Regions from separate parts of the Homo sapiens genome. Here region 1 is linked to region 2. The links are contacts of gene promoters, found by promoter capture Hi-C in human tissues and cell types (Jung and others, 2019). All regions are on one chromosome and are shown on one strand. The core of a region is centred on a gene start or on the middle of the fragment in contact, and the rest is flanking DNA. Distances in the headings are between cores, read along the strand shown.

What was found. The method cuts DNA at HindIII sites, captures the fragments that hold promoters and counts their contacts. A contact is called where the count stands out against the background at its distance.
Region 1: a fragment that was not itself captured here is called in contact with the fragment with the promoter of TMEM74 in region 2 in 1 of the 25 tissues and cell types used here (hippocampus).

Annotation. Positions count from the first base shown.
Region 1 is chr8:108,847,560-108,854,275 of GRCh38, forward strand. No RefSeq gene overlaps it. Among named protein-coding and RNA genes, the nearest start is that of TMEM74, 63 kb to the left of the region's middle. The HindIII fragment of the contact is 4,370 bases long and covers 1-3,492 here.
Region 2 is chr8:108,782,909-108,790,152 of GRCh38, forward strand. TMEM74 (transmembrane protein 74) reads right to left here and starts at 4,686. Exons shown (of 2, transcript NM_153015.3): 1 at 4,568-4,686; 2 at 1-2,229. The coding sequence starts at 2,190. The coding sequence ends at 1,273. RefSeq lists silencers at 3,912-4,206, 4,622-4,801. The HindIII fragment of the contact is 13,104 bases long and covers 915-7,244 here.

The DNA.
Region 1 (6,716 bases), core at 58-2,557, 61 kb after region 2:
GCTGTTAGCAGTAGAAGGAACCTTAGGGATTTCCTAGTTCAAAGATTTTCAAGGACAATCTTTGGATTCCTTGAGCTCCTCAGTTGGGCCAGGGGCTTGCCCGCTCATCTCCTTACTTGGTTAGACCAGATATATAAATATATATATATATATATATTTATATATATATAAATTTTACTTAAGTTCTGGGATGCATGTGCAGAATGTGCAGGTTTGTTACCTGGGTATACATGTGCCATGGTGGTTTGCTGCACCTATCAACCCATCATCTAGGTTTTAAGCCCCACATGCATTAGGTATTTGTCCTAGTGCTCTCCCTCCCCTTGCCCCCCACCCCCTGACAGGCCCCAGTGTGTGATGTTCCCCTCCATGTGTTCATGTGTTCTCATTGCTCAGCTCCCACTTATGAGTGAGAACATGCTAGACCAGTTATATTTTTAACTGTTTTATGTAACGGTATTACTTGTAAGGTTGAATTTGAAAAAATAATTCTGCTACTAAAAAATAGGCAAATAGCCCATATATCCCCCCTCATTTTACCAATAATTATAGGATTCTCAAGAAATAAAAAGACTTCACCATGAAGATGCTGTTTTGGTAGTAGAGCCAAGTGCCGATGATCCTTCCACTGAAGTGTGGCACTTTTATCTGCACAGGATTTAGGAAAACAGCTTCTGCTCAAAAGTATGTGTATAGATTTTTAAGTTTTAAAGCTCAGTTAAAGAAAAAGAAATGAGTGAAAATTCTAAGTTTCGGTCAAGTTTTTATGTATGAATATTAGTTGTTTCAGAAGTCAGAAATACTAGGCTATTTTGATAAATCTGATTAGTCCAGCAAGTTTGAAAAAAAAAATGCATGAGGAAATAAAGGAAAAAAGGAACAGGGAAGGAGGAAGGAAGAAAAAAAAGTAAGCAAGCAAGCAAGAGAAAGAAAAATTAAGAAGAAAGAAAAGATTTGAAAAGATAACTTATTTTTTTCAAATATAGCTACATTTGAGGCTGATAGCTCCAAATCTTTTTTTTTATCTTAGGTAATTAAAGTATTAAATTTCCTTTTACCTAATACCATACAGAAAATGAACATTTGATGAAAACTACTTTTATTTGGGTTGTGATTATTCTACTTTTAAATTTTATGTGTCCTGTTCTATGTGTGTGATGGCATTTTATAAACTAAATGGCAAACTGTTCTAAAACAAAAAATATGAAAAGTTAATATAACTAATATAACTTTAAAAAAGCTCCACATTGGACATTCTCAACAGAGAGAATATGTCTAAAGCAAAATTAAAAACATAACTTAAAATTATCTAAGAATTTCAAGGACTGTTGTTACATATATGAATTAAGACTTCCAGTTTTTATGAAAAGGTGAGAGATGCTAAAAAACTGCTCTGCAAATCAAATAGCCTAATTTGTTCATATTATAATTCCTTTTATATTGCATTGATGTTATAGTGTTTCTTTACTTATTTGTCTCTCCTCAAAGACTGCAATTTCCTTAAGGTAAGTATATCTTACCCCTTAGTAATTTGTTTTCTGTACCTCACAACTCTCACAGGCATGCTGTAGATGTGTTATTAATATTTATTTAGTGAATGAATGCATGAATGAATAAACATGAGTGACTCTGCACAATGAGGTTCTGGGTTACTTGTACTTTCTGGTATCTCTTTAAAAGTCTGTTTTGTTTAGACTATTCTCACTTCAAAGTAACTTGGTAACAAAAATAGAATTACATGTCCAGATTTCCTCACTATTCTCTACACTACTTTAGTGACTTAAAGACATTAGTGGAAACCAAATTCACATTTTTCTAAATCATTTATAATAGCACAGAGGAGTAGAATTCTAGCCCAATCAAGTACAGATGGGTAATGTACTTAAGCACCTTTACTTTCAATTATAAAACAAAATACACAGATATAAGCACACAAGTACATAGACACATACATGAGAGTAAGTCCAGTACTTCCTCTTTTTAAGTTCCCAACAGATTATTTACTTTAAGAGAAAATAATAATGTATATTACGTAATAAGCACATACTACGTGCCACATTCTATGTAAGCATTGACATATATTGCTTGATCTTTACAACATTCTTATGAAATATGATCCACTATTATTCCCATTATATACTTGAGGAAATCAAAGTTTAGAGAGGTTAGTAGTCATATATTGCTTTTACATTGAAAGGCTTTGTTTCAAGCCCAGGTGTATCCAGTCTTGCACATTTTTACATATCACCTAAGCATATATCAGAGTCTGGTCTGGATCAGCAAAGAAGGAAGGTCTTAAAATGTCTGAAAGTGTTTGGAAATGCCTCACTTCAAAACAGAGTTACAAGTCCAAAATTTTTTGTTTTTTGCTTTCTCCTGTTTGACTTCAGTGATTTTCTAACATCAGAGAAAAAAAAAATTCATGTGCATTTAAAAAAATCTCCGGTTGGCATTTCAACCAAAGCCAGGATAAACTGGTGGTCTTCTTCCCACATATGCACCCTTTAGATAGCAGCCCTCTGGCTTTTTTTAGTAGGTAGCTCAGTTTAGTTTCATTTGAAACAGAGTCATCTCTTTTGTTAATTTACAAATTTAAAAGATCAGTGAAGTGTGAGAGTGAAATGGATATAAAAATACAAGAACATATGCAGAGGGTGCTGAGAAGAGGCAGACAATACAGTGTTTCTCAGCATGAGGGCTGCTCTGTCGCATTACTACTTGGGACATCTGTGCCTGCACCAAGCTGTCTCAGAGACAGGCTTCAAGCCAAACCATCACGCAGACTTTGTCCTCCACACATAGTCATGGCAATTTTGGTATTCAGAAGCACCTGCCTGCAAATACAATTTGCTCACTGATGCTGCAAGGGGCATAAGAATTATGCACTGTCTCCATCTAATAACACCTTTGCAGTCTCTCCACAGCAGGGGCTCTGCACGGATCTTTTAATCTTCTCGCCCTCTGTAGGAAGTAAGAACTATGATTTCTCTTCCCCTCACACATTAAATTGTATTACCAGGTAGCAATGGGGCAGTGCCAGCTGAATAAAATTGATAGCAAAAGCAGACAGAAGAATTGCAATGTCCTCAGCTGACTTCAAGGGAGAGAAATTTTATTTCAAAAGCAATAAGTCAATGAGTCATGAGCCCCAGTGCTGTGCAAGCACTCTGGTGTTGCTCACCAAATCTGCAGCTAGGGATGGCGTGGAACAGACATCACCTGCTATCAGCCAACATAACTGAGGTGGCTTTGTCAGACAACTTACCTGAGGTGGCTCTATCAGCAATCGAGCCTCATCACCCTTGTCCTTTTGCAAACCTGTACAGTTGCTATCCTCCTGCATTTTTGGATTGCACTTATGCTTCAATAAATAGCTGCATTAAAACAGGATGTTGCCTTCACTTATTTAAATATTCCTAAGCATAGCTAGTAGGGATGGCTTTTCGATTACTAAATTCAAGCTCATCAGGAAGGTGCATAAGTGATATATCACTGAGGCATATTGTGAGAAATGTTTTCTAATTGTAGGAATCCTGCTGCTTATTCCTGACAAGAAGCTGTTATAAAAGGTTGAATAATATCTTTGGGATTCATAAATTATGAATGCAGTCCTCTCTCTGCCATGGATGCCATGGTATGTATGTTGCTTATAGCCTTTCAAATGCCGCAGCTAATGTATGCATTGCCAGTGTCGTCACCACTATTTCAATTTATAAAGGATACTAAGATAACTTTCCCCAAAATACATTCCTTGGAACACCAATACTGCGTAATACGGTTCTACGGAAACATCATATCAAGAACTGTTCCTGTGAATTGGTAGGAGTAAGATAAACTCTATCTTTTGCATTTTTCAAAATTATTTAGTAAGAAACTTACTTTTCTCAAAATATCTTGAGGGATAAAAACCCATTAGAATCGCCATTTGAGGAAAGAATGTGAAAACAAAGAGCAACATAATTGTTACCATCCAAATATTCATGACGGGATATAGGGATGAGAGCAGCGCAACCTGTTCTCTATTTGAGTATTACTTTTCCTCCTCAGATTAAGACCCAATACACTGATTTCCATTAAGTTTTCTTTATATCATAATAGACATGTAGCAAAAACAGCAAAGACTATGTCTATATTGTTCACTCTTGGATTCCCAGAATAAGGCACATACTAGGTGCTTAGTAGGTAAATGCTTGTTCAATAAATGAAGGAATAAATAGATGAAAGAATGGCTGAGTCTGCACATGGCTCTTTACATGTGTGGTTACTTATGATATCGCACTATTTTCAGAAATATGTGGGCAGTATTAGGACAGATGTTTCTAAGCCACCACAGTGGCTCTGCTCTCCTCCCTATAACTTGTAAATAATAAAATCACATGCACATTTCAAAATGTCAGCCTCTGTTGCTGGCTGTGTTGTTGCCTTGGCAACATAGACTATGACATTATAAGCTATGGTCTCTGCCATGCAGTTATTTGAGAGTTACCCTGCAGAGTTCCACAATGAGATATTGTTATTATGGATCGCTTACCACCCCCTGGTCTGAACATTGATGTGTGTGTGCCTGTGAGAAGGAGGCTTACCTTATGTTAATTCTCTTTATTATTTGGGCCTAGTATTCCAATGGCTAAATAATTATTTTATCCTCCTTCATTTGCTTCAATTATGCTCATAGTGGATAGCATACTGTGTATGAAAATATACTCGACTGCTGATGATCCGACTTTGGGATTTTACAGACCAGAAGAACTCATTAAACAGAGGAACAAATCTATGCTTGTCCACTTTTATTATTGCTAAGTAAAGGCAAAAAATAAAAATAATTACCCAGTATCCTAGTTTTATTAAAGAACAGGCATTTTGTTTTCCCCAAAGAAAGAAGCATACTTTTAAAATAAAGGGCAGCCTTGAATTTGAAGAGCCCTATAAAATATCAATCACATTGCCTTTATTCAATTTATTAGACTTGAAAATTTCCCCATGGACAGACCATATTCTGCAAACACATAAGTGACAACCTCTTTTAAAACAGGATAGTAGGAAAAGAAAGGTGACTATGAAATATAAGAATCATTATTCTAGATAAGGAATGTCCTGTACAACCTAAAATTCTATCCCGTCAGTGGCACCAGGGAACACAGAACAAGGCTCAGCTCATCATGCCAAACTCCAGACTGCATGTGTTCAAGTTCACAGGCATTAACTTTCTCCACTCTCCTCAAGGAGTCAGCCCACCTCTGAACTCTCCCTCTTGCTTATTCCCAACAAGAATAATATACAAGGAATATACAAGGAGTAAGGAGTATACAACCCCACTTCTCTCTTGAGAAAACTGAGGCCAAACATCTTGTGATTCCATAGGTACCAGTTACCTAAATCTCTACTCATCCTCTCCAGGCTTGGACCTTCTATTATGTCCACTTGTTTGAATTTTCTGACTCTTGGCTGACACCTGTGTTTTAGTATTTACTTTGCTCCACAGTGAAGTACTAAATTTGGTTTGTTTTGGTCCATATTGACTGTTCATGTAATTACTATGGCCCTGAAAGAAGATGTTAACTCCATTACCTTTCTCACAATGGTTCTCAGGCAAGGTCTCCCTCTGGTAAACCCACCCAGGTGTGTGCCCTCTCTGTTCCAGCTCCTCAGCTCACCACGGATGGGATAAATTGGGTCAGACAAGTTCTTGTGCATCTGGTTTTATGTGGGGTCAGAGATGTATTTATGTATTGGGTGAGACAAGTTCTCGTGGATCTGGTTTTATGGAGGGGTCAGAGATGCACTGTGTTTTCCAATCTAGCTATTTCCAGGGATCCCTGAGTGAAGCATAAACCATGATCTCCATCAGGCTTCCTGTTCTTTGTGTATGTCCAGCACTTCCCAGAATCTTGGGGAGTCAGAGTTAAGTGGTAGGATTACGACATAAACCCCACTCCCAACCCCTAACAATTTCCATTCTCCAACTCCATTTCCTTACATATCTACCCACTGCAATCTGTCTTCACCACCCACAGGACACCCCAACCACTCTGGCAAAATTCATCAGTGTCTTTCTAATTGTCAAATCCAATGACATGTGTCAATATTGTAATTTTTTTACATCTTCAAAATATTTAATTTTAAAAAAGTGAAATGTAACGTTTTTTCATCTGGAAATCTTTAAAAGTTGTTTAGCTCTTATTTTATTCTACATGATTCTGACACTCCAATCATTTTCTCTTGAAAATTCTACACCAAGTCTTTTCTTCCATATAAAACACTCTTTCTGAAGTGTACTCTAACTTACTTCTCTAACCAGTTCTTCCCAGATTCCTTTGCTTAAATGTTAATGTTCTTTTAAGTTCTGATCTTTACCCTCTTCTATTTCTGTTAGTCTTCTCTCATTACTTCTGTCCCTAGGTTGACTTCCAAATCTTCATAACCAGTTTAGGTCTGTTCCTTGACTCTCAGTTCTGTGCATCTTTCTGCCTGTGAGAACTCTTCACCCAGATAAATCCCAACTTGCATATTCAAAATTAAATCACTTACTCTCACATGACAGCATGAGGAGCTCTGCTGACCTGCTCCCTGATGAAAACTGGTGAAAATCATGTTAAAAAAGAAAACACCAAAAGCCTTTAGAAATAACATAGAGCAAAACAGCAAATGAAAACAAATATTCAAGAAAATCTATAAAATTTCAGCAAGAAAAGCGAGAGTCTGTAATATTTGCACCA
Region 2 (7,244 bases), core at 3,436-5,935:
GTCACTGTGAACACCCAGTGTGTGTCTTGCAAAGTGAGCACCTTGCTCATCATGCTGCTCTTAGAGAAGAGTTTGTGCTGCATGAGGCAAGAGTTCACAGTTGCTGAATGACATCTAGACCACTGTGAGTGGGAGGTGAGTTCTGACGATGACTACAGTCCCCATTAAATCAGTGTATTGAATCTCTCTTTCCATTTTATTTTTTTTTGGCTTTGGGCTTAAGGACTGTTGCTACCATGAGGGAAGTGCTCGTTGCTTGGCCTACAGCAAGTGATACAGCCTGCGAGGCACAGTCCCCAAAAGTCTAGCTGCAATTCTATTGGTGGTTTTCCCCAAACAGCAATAACAAGATGTTACCTGGAAGCACACCAGAGCCAATCATGACTCAGGCCTGTCTAGATGTTTAGATGTCTGGAAATATATTTAAAATGTCTCATGCCTTGCCTCTTGCTGCTGGTGTGAGAACCAGCAGACTTCAAGAGCACAGATAACCAGTATGATGGCAAAATCACAAAATATAAAACTTATATCAGTAACTAATTTGACTTCATTTTAAAAAAGAGCCTGTGACCCTGGCTAATATCTGGCACCAACACTGTGGTTTAAATTCACATTGGTCTTACAATGATTTACATAATTTTTTTTTATTAGAAAGTTTATCCTAATGACTTAATTACCATTTTTGAAAACAGGAATAATTTCAAACATAACATTTTTTACAATAAGGAAAGCCCAACATCCTCAAACTTCAAAATATTCAAACTAAAAATTCCATGTTTTAGTGTTTAGCCAAATTACAAGAAGGATAATTTAGCAAGAAAATGGATAAGCACCTTTGAGAATTAGATGTAAGCCTTATTATTGATTAGTGCTTAGTTCTTTTTCACAAAGTAGATTAGCAATTGATCCTACTGTGTGTAGGACCACCTAGTGTCCAAAGAATAACATCATATATTTGTGTAAAAGAAATAATTTGTAGACTGGGTCATTAGAAATATTTTTCTATCGAAGTAGAAGTTCTTGGCCATTACAGATTAATTAGCCTTCAGCTCTTCAGAAGGATAGGTGTGGCTGGTTGTGGTTTCTTATACATCTTACATGGCTTTTCTTCTAAATAGAAGACACATAGAGAACAAAAACACTTACTGGCTGTTGGTTTGTGAAATAAACTTTTCTTGCCAGGCAAATAAATTGCACTGTGAATTTTTATAAATTAACTTTTTTCATATTATAAAATGCCAAGGCAGACTCTCAAGATATTCACAACCAGAATTAACTCTGTACAGCAAGCGCATCTTCCTCTACCAAGGACAGTTCCAGAGTGTTTTCATTCGTGCTGGTTTTCATCCTGAAGTTGAAAGAACCATAGAGTTTTGCAGACTCTTTGGAAGAGGCAAATCTGTTTCGACGATAGAGCTCCCCCTTCCACATGGACATCATTAACAAGCAGGACAGGATGACGCCCCCCAGCGTGAGGAGGCAGAGCCCCGCAATCACACAGCGGTCCAGGTGAGCCCCCAGCCTCGCACTCTCCTTCTCCAGGCGCTCCATCTCCCGGGCTGCCACAGTGTTGGGGTCCACAGTCACTTCCCGTGGGACGATGTAAGAGATGATCACGAGCAGGATCCCAGTGACCAAGAACAAGATGGCGCTGATGAAACCATAGTCTATAGACTTCCCTGAAGACGTGGCTTCTGAACTTGTATCATCCTCCTCTTCAGATATCAAAGATATGGCAGCCTCTTGGGACCACTCATTTGGATTTTCCCAGCCAAGCTCCCCAGGGTGATTATGCCCTTTTGCTGATGGCGAGCTCCGGTTCCGCTGCTCCAAGTTGATGTTTTTGTCCACATAGGTAAAAGAAGTTTCTAATTCCTGGCTGCAGCAGTTACAGACTTTCCGTTCCGCTGTTATTTGGTTGTTCCCTGAGTGGAGAAGTCCTGGTGGAAAGGCATCTGGCTGAAGAGTACTGTTTTGCAGAGAGGAGGAGGGGGATGCTGGAGAAGAACTAAGTTTAGACCCTTCCATCTCGGTTGCTCTTGGGGTGGATGCACACTGTTTCTGACAGCAGAGAGCAGCTCTTGTGGCTGCTGTATCTGCCTGGTCACCAGGCAGCCCTCTTGAACTCCAGTCCCTGGCATCACAGAGGTCTGCCTGGTTGCTCTTCTTAGCAAGGTAGTGGAGCTCCATGAGAGCTAGTCAGACATCCCCCAGCAGCTTCCGGAAAGTCTGCCAATAGCAACAGAGTTAGATAAGAACCCAACAGAAGCTAAGGTTGTACTTCCAGGAGTGTTGCTCCTGGGGTCCCCATTTCCTTCACAGCTGCACCTGTTTAGCCCCTTTTCCACCTCAAACAGGCAAAAGAAGGGAGGGGATACCTAGTGGCAGGAAAGTGTGGAAGGGACAAATGCTCTCACTTGTCATAGTGATTAACACTGAGAAACTTAAGTCAGGGTAGAAAGGTGCGTGGAGGAAGTGGCAGTGTCTACTGAGAAAGAATACTGCCGTCACCAAGCCAAATTTATTCAAGGACTCGCGCATTCCTGCAAAAGGATCCCTCAAACGAGAAGGCAAGTTTCCTGTAAAAAGACAAATGAGAAAGGCAAGAGCCCTTTTTAGCAGAGCTGCCGATTTTCTGGAGGACTTGGGGAAGCATAGACTTGTTAATTCAGTAAGATTGTAAGTGTTTACACTCTCCCTAGTTCAGAGCAAATTCTAATACAGATTAGCTTTGGAGCATCACCATCAGTGAATGACTATACACCCCTATCAGCTGGGCAGGAACTCAGCATTTTGATTCCATAGCTCTGAAGTAGATGAAAAAGGCCAGCTTAATCAGCCACCTCTGCTAAGCTTACACCTCATACATCCAATGACCCTAGTGACACAGCCCTGTATTTACAAGACCATATGCTGCTTATTCACTGTGCTTCCACTTAGCCCTATTCCCTCACTGCTCCATGGGGGAAGCATGTTCTGGACCCCAAAGCATACAGGCAACAGACCTTACGGCAATCCCTGCAAAATACAATGGGCCAACCCACTCCTCCACACACACACCTGCCTGCTCCAGCTGCAGGATCTGCTACTCCCGTTCCCTGGGTCTGTGTTCCTCCCTCTCTGCATGCTTTGCTATCACACAATGCACAAGAAATTGACCATCTGGATAGTTTTACAAACCCAATCTAGAAGTGAACTGATAATAAAAGACAAACTATAAACCCACAGAGTAAGAGTTCTGTGGAGACAAATAGGTGAGAAGCTATTTCCAAGGTTACCTCTGTAATTTTATAAACATGTCACTCCTCACCCCCGACTGCAGCAAGGGGCATTTCTGGGAGAGAACTTTGGTTTGAGCAGAAAACCATCGGCTTTTCTCTGCCTCTGCCATGTTTCTAAGGAATAAAAATTCACTTTCCACTATCATTAGAGATTTTAACCAAAGGCTCCTTTTATTTTGCTTCCAAATCCAGGGTGATAATTGATTTAACCCAACGGCTTGAGGCTTCTTATAATTCAAAATCCACAGCTCCAAAGCTGGTAACAGAAACACAGGCAAGGGTCACCTAAGGTCAACCTGGCAACTCAAAATATGGGAGAGGGAATTGACATGTTTTCTGCTACACCTAAGAGTTTGTTTAAAACAAAACAAAAAAAGCAAAACAGAAAACGTTTTTCTCCTGTTATCGGAGTTTCTCTACAGTGAAAACAGCAAAAAACAACAGGGCAAAAGAATCACTACTAAACTAGAACAAACCCCCACTAAAGGATCCCTCAATGAATGAAGTGATGGTAACAGGCTTCATCAATTACCGATAACTCTTCTTCCAGTTTTCTCAGGCATTAGGGGCTCTGATTAACCTTTGGTACCATTAACTCATCACACTAGCCTACCTTGGATAAAATCAGCAGGGTTCTTTGAGACTTTCAGTTTATAACAAAAGAAGAGAGAAATCCCCACTTAATTCCCTACGGCCGCCTCTACCTCTCTTTAAAGAAAAGCTACTCCCGCTTGTTCGCTTGTTCTACCGGAGGTATGCTAGCAGCACAGTCGATTTCCTTTGCAGCTCCCTAATCCGGGGTTTCCATTCTCAGTGGAGAATGGATAATCCCAGGGGACCAGCTAAAGACTCTTTTCTTCCGTCCTCTCCCTCTTTTTCCTCTGATCTGCTTAAAAGCCCAGTTAACGACATTGCACCTTAAAGCGAGGGGACACGCACTTTCCCTCGTCCATCTGTCATCAATTAAAAGCATTAATATTTGCTTTAAACTGACACAGGCAAGGCTGATCTCGGGGAGGCGACCTCTGGATGCGCCCTGTGCGAGCAAAGCCGGGAGAGCGAGCCCCAAGCACCTGGCAGCGGTGCCCCCAGCAGGCGCCGAGGAATCCGGCTATCCATTTCTGGTGAACTCTGCGCCCACTGAGGCATTCGAGGTACGGATGTGTCCGCCTAGTACTCGGAGACGAAGGAGAGAGAGCGGGGATATGCGCTCCAGCTCTGCTAGGCTCCAGGGCTCTCACCCTTGCATTCAAAGCCTCCACCCCATCCCACTCCCCGCCACTCACCTTCTGCTTCGGCCACCCGGTGCGGCTCCAGCACCGCGCGCTCTCCCGGCACGGTTCCCGGAGAAAGTCCCCCAATCACCAGCTACGGCACTTGTAGCCTCTGCACGCCGCTCGGCTCCGCCGGGTGGGCAGCGCCCGCCACGGCGGGCGGGGTGGGGCGGGGCGGGGCGCTCCCGGAGCATCCCGGGAGTTGTAGGCCAGGGGCGGTCCCTGCATCCCTCCTGTCTCTGTCTCCTCCCACGCCTTCTGGGTTTTACCCTTCCTGCAGATGAGTTCCCGCCATACCCTCTTACTCCTCCCCAGCACTTAAGAAGACAGCACTGTTTTCTAAGCCTAGAGTGGAGTTCCCTAGCCTCAGGTGTGGCCACAAGACTGTGAAAAGGAAAGTATATTCGACTTCAAATGTGCCAGATAATTTGCATATTTTGTCTTTTTAATAGTCAAAACAAATCTTCCAAGTAGATTTTATTAATCCTCATTTTACAGATGTGGAAACAGGCTCAGAGAGGGTAAGTGCCTCATCCACAGTTACCAACAGCAGCTTCTGAAATTGCATCCAGGAGTCAGATTCGAAAGTCATTGCGTGTCTCACAAAATCAGAAGAAATATGACCATAAGGGGTAAGAGATTGTCCGATGTACCAACACATCCCCTGTATTTAGCACAGTGGTATTCGTTGAATGTATGAATAATAATGACTCAAAATAACAGTTAACATAAATAGCGCTTATTATTGCCAGGCTCTCTTCTAAGCACTATAGATACATTATCTCATTTAATGGTCACAATTTATTGTTAAAGTACTGTAAAAAAAAATCCTCATTTTAACAGAAGGCAAAACTGAGTTACAAAGTAGAATAATTTGCCCAATGTCACACAACTAATACTTAGCAGAGGTGGGGGGGGGGGGATGAACACCAACAGATTCTAAGCGTTATGCTATATGGAATGAATGGAAGAAAGACCAGAAGGCCAGAATAAAAGGGCTCAGGAATAAAGGAAATCTGAAGGTTGAATCTTCTGAGTTGTGACTCTTAGGATAGGACAAGGTAACTGTGTCACCAGCCTCTTTCAACCAGAGTGGACTGCAATAGCCAACAGCCACTGAAAGCCCAGGGTATGTGTAGCTTGCAGATAATCTCCAGTTTTCCAGCATCCTGTTGGGACAATTCTAGGGGAGCAAAAAAGGATTATAGTATGGATGGGCTGGGCACGATGGCTCACGCCAGTAATGCCAGCAATTTGGGAGGCCGAGGCGGGCAGATCACGAGGTCAGAAAATCGAGACCATCCTGGCCAACATGGTGAAACCCCGTCTCTACTAAAATAGAAAAAATTAGCCGGGCGTGGTGGCGCGTGCCTGTACTCCCAGCTACTCAGGAGGCTGAGGCAGGGGAATCGCTTGAAGCCGGAGGCGGAGGTTGCAGTGAGCAGAGATCGTGCCACTGCACCACTCCAGCCTGGCGACAAAGCAAGACTCCGTCTCAAAAAAAAAAAAAAGAAAAAAAGAAAAAAGGGATTAGGGATTATAGTATGTATTATGACATTGTGCTTGTAGCTCACATAAATACTGTGGTTGCTTGCTTTCAAAAGAGAGATCTATCTCCTTTAATGACAATTATGTTGGTATTTCATTACATTGGATAGAATCTATAGTCACATGATTACAGGAGTTCACAATGCTCCCTCTTTAAAATTCTTTTTCCCCCATATGATTATATTTGTAGCCAGTGAGGCCCATTTGTTGATAAACATGACAGATGTATTATGACTTCTCCTTTGCTTACTACACGGTTCTCCAGCATGAATATCTTTCCTCCACTGCCCTATTCCATCCACACTTCAAGGACTAGTTTGTCAAGCCAAATCTACAGGGATGCATCCAGTTCTTAGTACTACATATGCAAAAAGAAATAAAGAGAGAAACTAAGATGTAGAAGGAACTTGAATTTATGTTGACGAGGAAAAACTTAGGAACTTAGGCTATTTAGCCATAGGAGAATACTGAGAGGAAACAATAAACTAGCTTCAAATATTCTGAAGTTTCTAAAAATAGAAGAAGAATTCTATAGTATATTTAAAAGGGTAAAAGCAGAACAAATAACAATAATACTTTTTTGTTAGTGCTATTATGTTATCATCTTTAATTTTTACACCAACTTCACAAGGGAGGCAGTATTATTGCACCCATTTTGCAATGTAGAAATTGAGGCTTGAAAAGATGTAGTTTCTTTTCCAAGGCCTGAAAACTAATATCGGGCAGAGCTAAGGTTCTAACTTGGGTCTGTGTGATTCCAGAGACTTGATCTCTTTGCCAACACATTATACTGAGCAATGCTTCACAATCTTTTTTACAGCAGAGTACACATAAGAGGTGATACTATTTATGGCAATGTGATAAACACAGGAGGTTTCTCATGGCCATAGTTCTGGGGCTGTGGGTACTTCAGTCTCTGCAGGACAGCTTGGAGGGCTAAGGAAATAAATAAGTCAGCACACCTGTGACACACTGGAGTGCTGGAGGATGCCAAAGCACTGATCTGAGAAGCTCTGGATAGCACTATTAAATTTAAGAAGGAGGCTGATTTGAGACTTTGTATAAGGAAGGACATTATTTCTAAAACTTTTAAATTGATGTCTCATGAAAGCAAATTCTCTGGTACTGGTGAGGATTAAAA